Regions from separate parts of the Homo sapiens genome. Here all the other regions are linked to region 1. The links are contacts of gene promoters, found by promoter capture Hi-C in blood cells and fetal thymus (Javierre and others, 2016). All regions are on one chromosome and are shown on one strand. The core of a region is centred on a gene start or on the middle of the fragment in contact, and the rest is flanking DNA. Distances in the headings are between cores, read along the strand shown.

Region 1 (2,725 bases), core at 155-2,654:
CTGCTGGCTACCGAACAACAGCCCCCAACTCGCAAACACAGACTCACAGGCACAAGACACGTGCACTGAAGGGCTCTGCAACTTGCAGTCCCGGGGTACACACTACACGTTCATTTAAGGAAGCAAGGAGACCAAGAGACCCCACCCCCACAATTTGCAGATGGTGCCAAAGGTTGCAATTTGCAATCCCCTTTAAGTTCACGATTAATCGGTACTTTGCTCTACCAACGCCAACTCCTACCCCATTTCATCGATTAAGGGGTTTTACACTTTACAAGCAGTCGCGCTGTAAGTAAAAGATCTGATCACTGGAAGCCCAGTTCGGAAGAATCTAATTGCCAAACTGTCCCTCCACCCCCACCCCCACCCCCCTCTCACTGCCCTTGAATTGATGCAATGAATATTTTGGACATGTGGTGACGCGGTGACAAGAGCCAGGGCTGCGGCCACCACACACAGATGTACCTACGCACACCTATGTTTGGACAAATACAGTCCCACCACACACACGGTCTCACACACTCTGGATTCATATATGTACGCGAACCTGCGTTCTGCCATTGCCATCTGTCTACCAAGTTGCTACTATGCTTTCCACTTTCATGCAGCCTAATGCACTTTGGCTTTCTAAAAAAAAAAAAAAAAAAAAAAAACCTATAAACTAAAGCCAACTTAAACTGGGCTTCTGCTCCTAAACGCGTTTAATTGATGATTCACCTGAAAACCGCATGTTCTTCGCAAATCCAAAAGAAGAAATAGCTCTAAGTCTTCAGCCCCCCAAATTTGAAAAAAAAAATCATAATAAAACTTACTGATCCAACATAGATCAATTCTCAGGATCCAAAAATCATCCTCTCCTCCTCCTCCGGCCCCCGCCCCGGCAATGCCCAAGTTACTGGTGGGATAGTAACGCTGCGCTCAGCGGCTGCCTCCCTCCCTCCTCGCTACAGATCGAGAACCCAATCTTTTGGCGCCATATTAATGACGTATTATATTATTTCCACTAGGCAGCGACCTTCGGCATTAAATTACTCCCGAGAACTCCCGAGCAAAGCAACAAAACCATCAAATATGGCTGAGCCTCTCGGCTCGTCCTGCAGCCGCCGCCGCCGCCGCCGCCGTCGCCGCCGCGGGACCGGGACGCGCACACGGACCCACACGCGGACACGCGCGGACACACGCGCGGCGCGCCCACCCCGCGCGCCCCCCGCGGCCCGCGCGCGTACCTGCTGCGGAGGGGTTCGGCCGAGGCGCTGGGCTGGGCGCCGCTCGCTCGCTCGGAGCTGCATGAGTTCGGGCCGCGGCGGGCGGGGAGCCGGGCGGGCCCCTGCTCTCGCCGGCGCGCACACACCGGGCACTCGCGCACGGAGGCACTCTCGGTCTGGCGTTTGGCTTGTTATGGAGGAAGGACTATGTGAATCAAACTCATTTCTGGGTCACTGCTGCCACAGGGGGGAGCACTTTAATCCCTTGCCAAAACGAGAGGGTGGGGACGGGAGGGCGGAGGGAGCATGCGGGGAGCCCGCGGCGCTGGGGCTCGGTCCCTCGTTAACTCTTCGCAGCCCTAGCCGCAGCCGGCTCAGCCTGCGCCAGTGGGGGCTCGCAAAGAACGGCACTGTTCAGCTCTTAGTCTCTTTCCTTACTTCACCCACCTTGTGAGCCTAGAAATTCTTGAGGTGTCTCCAAGCAAGTGGGTTTTTAAATTAGCCCCTTCAAACTGCTGTCCCAGTTTCAACTCTTGTCTGACATCTAGAAATGGATTCTTTCAGAATAGTTTAAAATTACGTAGATTAAAATATGGCTATTAAGATGTGTCATTTGGGTGAAAGGTTTTATTTTTAGGCTGAGTGGCAAAATAGTTGTTTGTAGTAACAGTTTTAGGGAGTTGCACATTAGGATGACATTTTTAAATAGAGAGAATCCAATTCTGAATAACATCTTTACCTAAATTTGTATGGAAGTGATCATTGCAAATGAGCATTAATTCATTAGAAGATATTATTTATAAATTGACACCACTTTATGTTACACATTACTACAGAATTGGACATCTTCTCCCAAATATGAGGAGTGAGCCTAATGCTAAAACTAGAATTGCAGACTAGTATCAGATCAGTCATCGGAGATTCATTTGGGGGTATTTATGTGTAAAAAGGAGTGGTTACTGATTTTCTGCAGAAGACAAGCTTGCTTTTTCATATAGAGGGCAACATACTTCTTTCATGGATTCATCTAGGGAAATAGAGGGGTATATGACATTCAACTTCAATAAGAAAAAAGTACGGATTAAAAACTCCCATTCAGGCCGGGCGCGGTGGCTCACGCCTGTAATCCCAGCACTTTGGGAGGCCTAGGTGGGCGGATCACCTGAGGTCGGGAGTTCAAGACCAGCCTGACCAACATGGATAAACCCTGTCTCTACTAAAAAATACAAAATTAGCCGGGCATGGTGGTACATGCCTGTAACCCCAGCTACTGGGGAGGCTGAGGCAGGAGAATCGCTTGAACCCGGGAGGTGGAGGTTGTGATGAGCCGATAATGCGCCATTGTGGTCCAGCCTGGGCAATAAGAGCGAAACTCCGTCTCAAATAAATAAATAAATAAATAGGAACAGTGATCACTAATTACAAAATTGAATATCGAACCCAAAAGGCATATGTGTCCACCGGAAGAATCTTTCTGAATATATCAGGTTTGATTTCATGTAATCCCACACCAGCCCAAC
Region 2 (2,725 bases), core at 62-2,561, about 11 Mb before region 1:
AAACACTCTAATCAACCTGTCTTTGTTTGTGACTGAGTGAAGAGGACCACATGGGTATTTTCATTTCTGGATATTGGATTCAAAGCCAGACAGTCCCATTTGGAAAATGAAGAGGACACTTTGCCCTCCATCTATGTTATAGTAGATGGAATCTGCATCCTCAAGGTGGCGTTCCGTTGCCTAAGCTATCATAGCAAAGAGCCAACCTCTCCACTCCTGCACAGAATAGAAATATCTTTGAGCTGAGTGCCCAGGAAAACTTGGATGACTGTATCACAGGACAGGCCACGTGGGTCTTAATATGTCTCTGGTCTCTTTCTCAGAAATCATGGTAGCCTAAGAAGGTTGGCCCACTGTTGATGGCTTGTGAAGCAGAAATGAGGTGCTTTCCCAAGAACTTGAGAACCAGGTTGCTCTCAGAAAGTTTGACTACCAAAATCTGCACACTCAATGGTTTTGACTAGAATTCAGTGGGCATAAACCAAGAGAGTGACTCAATTTGTGACTGAGAAGTTTGAGGATTACCTCAAATTCCCATTAAAGTGACTTGGCTGTAATGCCAGGAAGATAGAGAATGTCATTATGACTTAGAAAGTGTAAATCTGCCTAATGGGCTGTATAGGACGCTGTGTGGAGAATCAGGTTTGGAGAAACTAGAGCACGGAGAAAGAAGCTTGAAGCCTCAGAAGCCATAGGGCCCATCTAAGCAGAGGTGAGTGGGATGGGTGGGCAGCCTCATTCTTTCAGAACACTGTATCAGAGTATTTGTCTTGTGGACCACACAACTAATGTCCTTCATTCTACTCCAGATAACTAAGCAAACTTTTGGATGGAATTTGTCTTCTCAAGTGCATTTATTTATATAGAGAGATCTTTTGCCCTGACAGTGTGAGTATTCTGATCTGTCCATCATAATTCAGGCATACATCTCAGTCTCTCGGGGTCTAGTTAATGTGAGTCCACTTGAGGAAGGTCAAGAGCTGACCCTTGATGAATGTTATGACATTTGTGGTAAATAGGTCAGCTGGAAATACTCCTCTGCCCATCCTGGATATTGTAGTGTCAAAAGAGTATACCATGTACCTGCCCTCTGCAATGTCTACTTTTGCAGAGGACCAATTGCAGGACTCAATAATCTTAATTTTAGCCTAGTAAAGTAATTTTTCAAAAACAATTAGAGAAAATAATATCTATGAAAACACATTTGGTTTTGGTGGCGGTTTGTCTTTATTTTTCAAGTTTCTGCAATCCTATTGTTTTTCTAAAGTAATTTCTAAAACAGATGCCCCTTTGAAAACTATTTCCAATTTTTCTTTGTGTGTGTGTGTGTGTGTGTGAGGGTTTTTTTTGTTGTTGTTTGTTTTTTTGAGATGGAGTCTCACTCCGTGGCCCAGGCTGGAGTGCAGTGCAGTGATGCCATCTCGGCTCATTGCAGCCTCCGCCTCCCAGGTTCAAGTGATTCTCCTTCCTCAGCCTCCCAAGTAGCTGGGACTACAGGCATGCACCACCAGTTTTTGTATTTTTGTAATTTTTGTATTTTTAGTAGAGACAGGGTTTCACCATGTTGGCCAGGCTGGTCATGAACTCCTGACCTCAGGTGATCCACCTGCCTCTGTCTCCCAAAGCGCTGGAATTACAGGCGTGACCCACCGTGCCTGGCCTCATTTTTTTTTTTTCAATCATTTCACTCAGCAGCTTCACTAGGCCCAAGCCTGACATAAGAGTTTTCATATCCCATAATGCAAAAAACCCCAAGAACTCTGTGAAGGAACAATATTGGCCCAGAGTCGACCCAAACAGGGAGATCTGGGCTGCATCTTCCCTCCCCTCCCCGCCCCAGAAAGTCTAAATTTAGTTTACTGGATACCCTGCAATGACATTAACATGTCATTGCAACATTAACATGTTGCAAAAACAAGAATCAAGCAAAAGAGAAAGAGGAAGCTTAATGTGGCATGAGGTATTTTAATACCATGGCAACTGTGGTGTCTTCTCTATTATTTAATTCACTTCCTTAGGTCAGGTTATTCTGCCCTCTCTCTCTTGCACTTCCTGTTGCTGTAATCAAATCAGGTCACCCTGAATCTGTAAGTCTTCTTCCTGACTGCACTCATGTCTATTTCCAGCAGAATGAATTTTCTCCATTTCTTTCTTTGCTCCCTGGACCTTTATTTGGTGCCCTTGATGTCCCTGCTCTTCCCAGTGCTCCACAAGCTGCAAACGCTTCCCTTTCATCCCCATCTCCTCCCCCACCCGTCTCCTCCTCGCTGCTCCTCTCCCAGCCCCTCCCTCCAGCTTCTGCAGTTGTCACTAACACAGTTAGCCACTTGATTAGTGACTCAGTGATTCAGAACCCAGGAACCTTGGTTCTCCTAAAACTTCCATGCTTCCCTCCCTAGAGTCAAGATAAAGGTTCTCCCCTCACCTGCCTGCCCAGATAGAGCCATTAACGTGAGAGGACTTGAGTATTCAGTTTGTTGGAGTTGCCCTGGCTTCTTCCCATTTCCTTTTTATGTGCCTTTTCCTGGGGCTTCTCAGGCTCTATTTACCTTTTCTCCAGAAAAGGTGGACAGAGAAGGTTTGAGCTTCGAATTTATGTAGCCCAACTCTTCATTTACAGATGGGAAAACGAAGGCCCCCCCCCCGGCCCCCGCAGAACTGAATTGCCCAGTTGCTTGGCTAGTTCTTGGTGGAACCAAAACAGACAAAGCAAAAACTCAATCAA
Region 3 (2,725 bases), core at 66-2,565, about 10 Mb before region 1:
TTGCTTGGCAAAACTCTGTGACTCAGTTCGATGGGGGAAATCATGAACACATGTATCAAAATTTAACGGAAGCGCTCTAGGTTCAAAGTCTGAAATAATATGTATGTATTGAGTACAACACAGTGGTGACCAGTCTTTTATTCTATAAAATGTAAAAATATGTGTTTCAGAGGTTCCAAAGGAAAATGCAGTTTACTGAGTAGTGATTAAAACACATCTGTTTGACAGTTGCTTTCTGGTCAGAACAAGAACTTAAGTTTAGTAAGAGAGCACAATGAGAACTTGATTCCTTTGTATATATTGTCCATTACTACAATATGAATTAAGGGATGGAATTTTTGGCTTTATATTATTGGTACTAACGATACGTGAAGTTGTTGGGTCAATGATATTTCTGTGAATATTGAATATGTACAGTTCAAGAGATGTTGTTTCCAGTGGCTGCGAACACACGGAAAGAACCTTAGAATGCCTTTGCATCAAAACTTTGAAAAATACTGTAAAGGTAGGAGGGCTTCACTTTGCCATTGGAAACTATTTTTTCGTAAGCTTTTGGAATTACCGGTGAAACTGAATATGGCCTGTAGGTATTCTCCTTGGAGTATATATGTGTGTATATAAAAGACTGTCTTTGGTTTGAAAAGACAAAAGTTTTGTCTTTTGATAAGGGGTTTTAAAAAGTGCTGTTTTCCAGCTCTACTGCATTTCTGTACTATATACGAATCTTAAAGTTTATGATAATAATGTTCTGTAAAGAATATGTTTTACATACAGTTATTTTCAAGTTATGTCACCAATTATGTTCATGTAATCTGAAGCTCCCTTACAAGCCTTATTTTAGAAGGAAACTTGAGAGAGGTTTGCTCTTTTACCCAAGGTTTATTCAGTGTGTTAAAAGTTAGGGAGGAAAGATGGCCCAGAAGATTAGGAATCATGATTCTAAATTTTTATTGCTGCCAATTTTCAATAGCATTGGTAGGATAATGTTTCTAAAGTTTGTATTTGTGTAATGGACAGAATACCTTTTTATCTCCTTGAGGGAGGTCATCAGGTGTGACAGAGAATTCTTCCTCACAAAGATTTTACAGTCTGGGGAGACAGGTGAAAATCTATATAATGTATAAATGTAAAAAATAGTTCCAGTGATTGCTATAATGGGTTGATGATTAGTGTAGAATGATATTTATACAACTTCTAGAGGAGATAAGCTTTAGGTTAATATTTTCAGCATAACATGTTTCTAAGCAAGTATATAACACTTAATATTATCACTGTCGCTACATGTTAAGGTACATGTTAAGCTCGAATATACTTTTGCTTTTCTTCCTTTTGAGGTGTTAAGTATCACATGTGCATTCCTTTAGCTATAAACATTTATGCTGCCAGAGGAGTTTGAGTAAAGGATGAAATAAATAAGCTTATTTATTAAAACTCACTGTCATTTTACAAAGTATGTTTGTAGTAAAGACTCGACGTACTTTAAAATTTCATGGACAATATGATGTATGAGAACGAGCCTTGACCCTGAAGAGTTGAGGATCTATATCTAGCTGTCACTAAACTAGCTAGTGACTTAACATCTTTAGGGCTTCATTTTTCTCTAAGAAGACAGGGTTGACTAGATGATTGCTAATGACTTTTAAAGCTCTAAAATAAGTGGCTTGGAAATACTTAATGGAAAGGTAGGGCTTCTCCTTGGGTTTTTTTTTTTTTTTCTAATATTACACCATGTGAATGAATATGTCTATAAGTTCGTTATGTAATTGGTAGGTTAACTTCTTTTATCCAGTCTTTGAAAATAAAAATGTGTGCCAAATTGGAACTTGAGGCTCTTTATATGTTTAAGTCTGTAATATAGTCTAATTAATAATTTAGGCTCATTTCTAGTGTATATAGCTTAATATAGGAAAAACAAATGTCTAGCATTGTTACTTTCCTAATATTTATGTTAAAGTATTGTGTATGAACAGTCTGGATTTTCTGGAAGATTTCTGCCTTATTCTCAAGTATACCTTTCTTGACTTTTTCCTTTATTTGTCTTTTCTTATTTTATTTTATTTTTACATTTGCGAAATAAGGTAATCAGAAGTTTTGGTCAACAATGCAGTTATTAAATGAAGGTGAAATTTTTCTGGAAATTTAGCCTAAATATTTTCACTGACAGAAAACAAATCTATTTTATTAAAGTTCATTATGAAATTGAAAATCTCATTTCTGATTTACTATAAATTGGAATATGTAGTCTCAATCTTGAAAAGATCAAATTGAAAAAAAATTAGCAGTATGAAAAGAAGTTAAAAGCAGTATGTGAATAGATACATTAAAATGAAACTCAAGGAATGACACTAGTTTTCTTTTTAAAAAGCTCATTTGAAAATGAATTTAAGAAATTACCCTTCACAATTCATTGCAGCATTGGTACTAAAATTCATGTAAAAACTGAGTTACATGGTCACATCAGTCAGTGTGTAAATAGCCAATCAGAATCATTCAACATAAAACTATTTTAGAAACAAATTTGGTTGGTGGAGAAGGGCAGGCAGCAGAATGTTCTTGATAACTATTTAAAATAATTCCTCATGTTTGATAATTGTTTAAAATGATTCCTTGTGTCATCTATAGCAAAATGTTCAAAAGGATGCAAAGAAATGCTTAAGAAGAGCTTTTTAAAAACCATTTATCTGTGAGTAGACAAATACTGTTTTACTTACAGAATCATAATTTT
Region 4 (2,725 bases), core at 66-2,565, about 10 Mb before region 1:
CACGCCCAGCTCATTTTGTATTTTTAGTAGAAATGGGGTTTCTCCATGTTGGTCAGGCTGGTCTCGAACTCCCGACCTCAGGTGATCCGCCTGCCTTGGCCTCCCAAAGTGCTGGGATTACAGGCTTGAGCCACTGTGCCCGGCCCTGGAATTTCTTCCCTTTCTTAAAAGCTGCTTTTGGCGGGGCGTGATGGCTCATGCCTGTAATCTCAGCACTTTTGGATGGCTGAGGCGGGAGGATTGCTTGAGCCCAGGATTTCGAGACCAGCCTGGGCAACACGGCAAAACCCGTCTCGACAAAATATACAATTTTTTAAAGCTGCTTTTTTCGGGGGTCAATGTTCTTTCTCAGGGGTCTCTTGAACTGCCTTAGGCCCCAAGCTCAAAGATCCTTTTTTTTTTTTTTTTTTTGAGACAGAGTATTGCTCCTACTGTCGCCCAGGCTGGAGTGCAATGGCGCAATCTCGGCTCACTGATACCTCCGCCTCCTGGGTTCAAGTGATTCTCCTGCCTCAGTTTCCGAAGCAGCTGGGATGTACAGGTGTGCACCACCACACTTGGCTATTTTTTTTCTAATGTAAGTAGAGACAGGGTTTCACCATGTTGCCCAGGCTGGTCTTGAATGCCTCAGTTCAAGTGATCCGCACCTCGGCCTCCCAAAGTGCTGGGATTACAGGCGTGAACCACTGTGCCCGGCCAGACCAAAGGTCTTAAGGCTCTTCCAGAATCCTCTCCAGAGCTTCTCAAGCTTTCCAGGAATAAGTACCTTTGGGGAAAGGAGGGGCAGAGCTCATAAATACTCCCTAATCTTTTTGGAAGAATCCCCTGAGGCACTTGTTAAATATGCACTCCACCGGGCTTCTCCACAGGAAACTGATCAAGCAGAGGGCTGAAAGGCCAGAAATCTGCATTTTAACAACTGTCCCAAATGATTCTGCCTCTACCCCTTTTCCTAAGATGCTTGCCACAGCTCCTGCATGCGAGCGCCACCTTCTTCCAGGCATTGTGTGTGTGGTCTTCTCTGCCTGCCCCCACCACCCCGCAAACTGTCCCCTTCCAAAACACCCTCCTTTTTCACCTATTAGAAGCAAAGCATTTCTTGACAAATTCAGCCACACTGATTTCTTTCTTCTCAACTCCCACTGCAATTAGTCATGTCACCTTTTACATGTACTATTCAATAAAGCTTGTGGATAAATTGCTATCAATTGATCTTATTCATTTGTTCTAGGTAAAGTCTAGTGTTGAGACAGCAAGCAAGGTTAAATGATTTACAAATGTTAAGTGTGTGGAATGTGAATCTGGAGCCATGGTTATTAACCCCAAAGAACCCCAGTTCACCATGTTTAAACTGTTGCCATTGAATGCTAACAGAAAAATCATACATTAGTTTTCCCACAAGGAAAGCAATTTATTCCATAGCAGCTTGATAATGACAAGCTTTCCCGTTTCTTCTCTCTCATAAGCAGTTTACTCACATAGTTAAAGGACATATTAAATAAAGCTGCCTTCTCAAATGAGCTGGTGGCATTTGCCTATAAATTGTACCATGAAAAAAAGCAAATGTTCTAATGGTAGAGAACAGTAGTTCAGCCAGCTCTTCATTCTCTGAGGAGGAGGGATGTGGAGGATAGCATTTATAAATCCACAGATGACTTCCAACTGCGTTTCATCCAGTACAGTAACTGTGGCAACTGCTACTTCTTAGGGGGGCTGCTATCCTTGAGAAAAGAAAGCCAAACACCGAGATCATCCCTAGGGTCACCTTTTAATTCTAACAACCTGGAATCTGATAACTCCAAAGGGACTGTACTTATCTTCCCAATAACTACCAATTGCCAAGGGGCATAAGTTATGCAGGAACTGATTAGCAAATGTGGACAGCTGTCGGGACTCACTACTCCCCACCACAAGGCTCAGGAGTGGAGAGGAGCTTTTGGCCCCTTCAATGTCTCTCTCACATATGGGTGCCAGATGTCCAAATTTGAGGGCATAGAAGAACAATCTGGAGTTATTCTTTTTGTCATTTCATTTGGTTATGTGGAATCCAGGGCCCATCATGAATGACTCAGACTTAATAGGTCTACAGTAGGATCCAAGAATCTGCATTTTAAAAAAGCACTTCATAGGCTGGGCGCAGTGGCTCACACCTGTAATCCCAGCACTTTGGAAGGCCAAAGCAGGTGGATCACCAGAGCTGGGGAGTTTGAGACGAGCCCGGGCAACACGTTGAAATCCTGTCTCTACTAAATACAAAAATTAGCCCGGCACAGTGGCGTGTGCCTGTAGTCACAGCTGCTCAGGAGGCTGAGACAGGAGAACTGCTTGAGCCTGGGAGGTGGAGGTTGCAGTGAGCAGAGGTGGCGCCACTACACTCCATCCTGGGCAACAGTGCGAGAGAACCTTGTCTCAAAAAAAATAAAAATAAAAATTAAAATTAAAAAGCACTTAGTGCTGGGTCTGAGGCTCTTTGGAAAACAATGTCCATTTTTGCAAAGTGCCTCTTCTCTCACCCTTCCTCATCTGTGTGTGTCTCATGCCTTTCTGCATTTACTCCTGCTTTTTCCAAACAAAACGCTTTATAGTAATCTCTTCCAATCCTAACCATGCTTCAAGAGCCAGCTGAAATGCCACCCATTTCTAGAAGCCCAAAAGGGACTTCCTGCTTTCCTGCACCCTTGTGCCATTTCCAAGTCAAGAGAATAAAAGGTGTTTCATTTCATTA

The links. Contacts are between HindIII fragments. The CHiCAGO score rates a contact against its expected background, and 5 or more counts as called.
Region 2: a contact is called between a fragment that was not itself captured here and the fragment with the promoter of JADE1 in region 1, in 1 of 17 cell types (total B cells). The highest score is 11.0, in total B cells.
Region 3: a contact is called between a fragment that was not itself captured here and the fragment with the promoter of JADE1 in region 1, in 6 of 17 cell types (naive CD8 T cells, activated CD4 T cells, naive CD4 T cells and 3 more). The highest score is 8.5, in naive CD8 T cells.
Region 4: a contact is called between a fragment that was not itself captured here and the fragment with the promoter of JADE1 in region 1, in 2 of 17 cell types (naive CD8 T cells and total B cells). The highest score is 6.9, in naive CD8 T cells.

The regions. Positions count from the first base shown.
Region 1 is chr4:128,808,379-128,811,103 of GRCh38, reverse strand. JADE1 (jade family PHD finger 1) reads right to left here and starts at 1,404. Exons shown (of 11, transcript NM_199320.4): 1 at 1,227-1,404. RefSeq lists silencers at 472-591, 1,102-1,581 and an enhancer at 892-1,001. The HindIII fragment of the contact is 6,052 bases long and covers 1-2,188 here.
Region 2 is chr4:139,560,145-139,562,869 of GRCh38, reverse strand. No RefSeq gene overlaps it. Among named protein-coding and RNA genes, the nearest start is that of SETD7, 5.3 kb to the right of the region's middle. The HindIII fragment of the contact is 1,271 bases long and covers 676-1,946 here.
Region 3 is chr4:139,079,934-139,082,658 of GRCh38, reverse strand. All of the region lies in intron 4 of ELF2 (E74 like ETS transcription factor 2), which reads left to right. Among named protein-coding and RNA genes, the nearest start is that of NOCT, 66 kb to the right of the region's middle. The HindIII fragment of the contact is 209 bases long and covers 1,211-1,419 here.
Region 4 is chr4:139,018,757-139,021,481 of GRCh38, reverse strand. The region is part of intron 1 of NOCT (nocturnin); the gene reads right to left. Among named protein-coding and RNA genes, the nearest start is that of NOCT, 4.3 kb to the right of the region's middle. The HindIII fragment of the contact is 254 bases long and covers 1,189-1,442 here.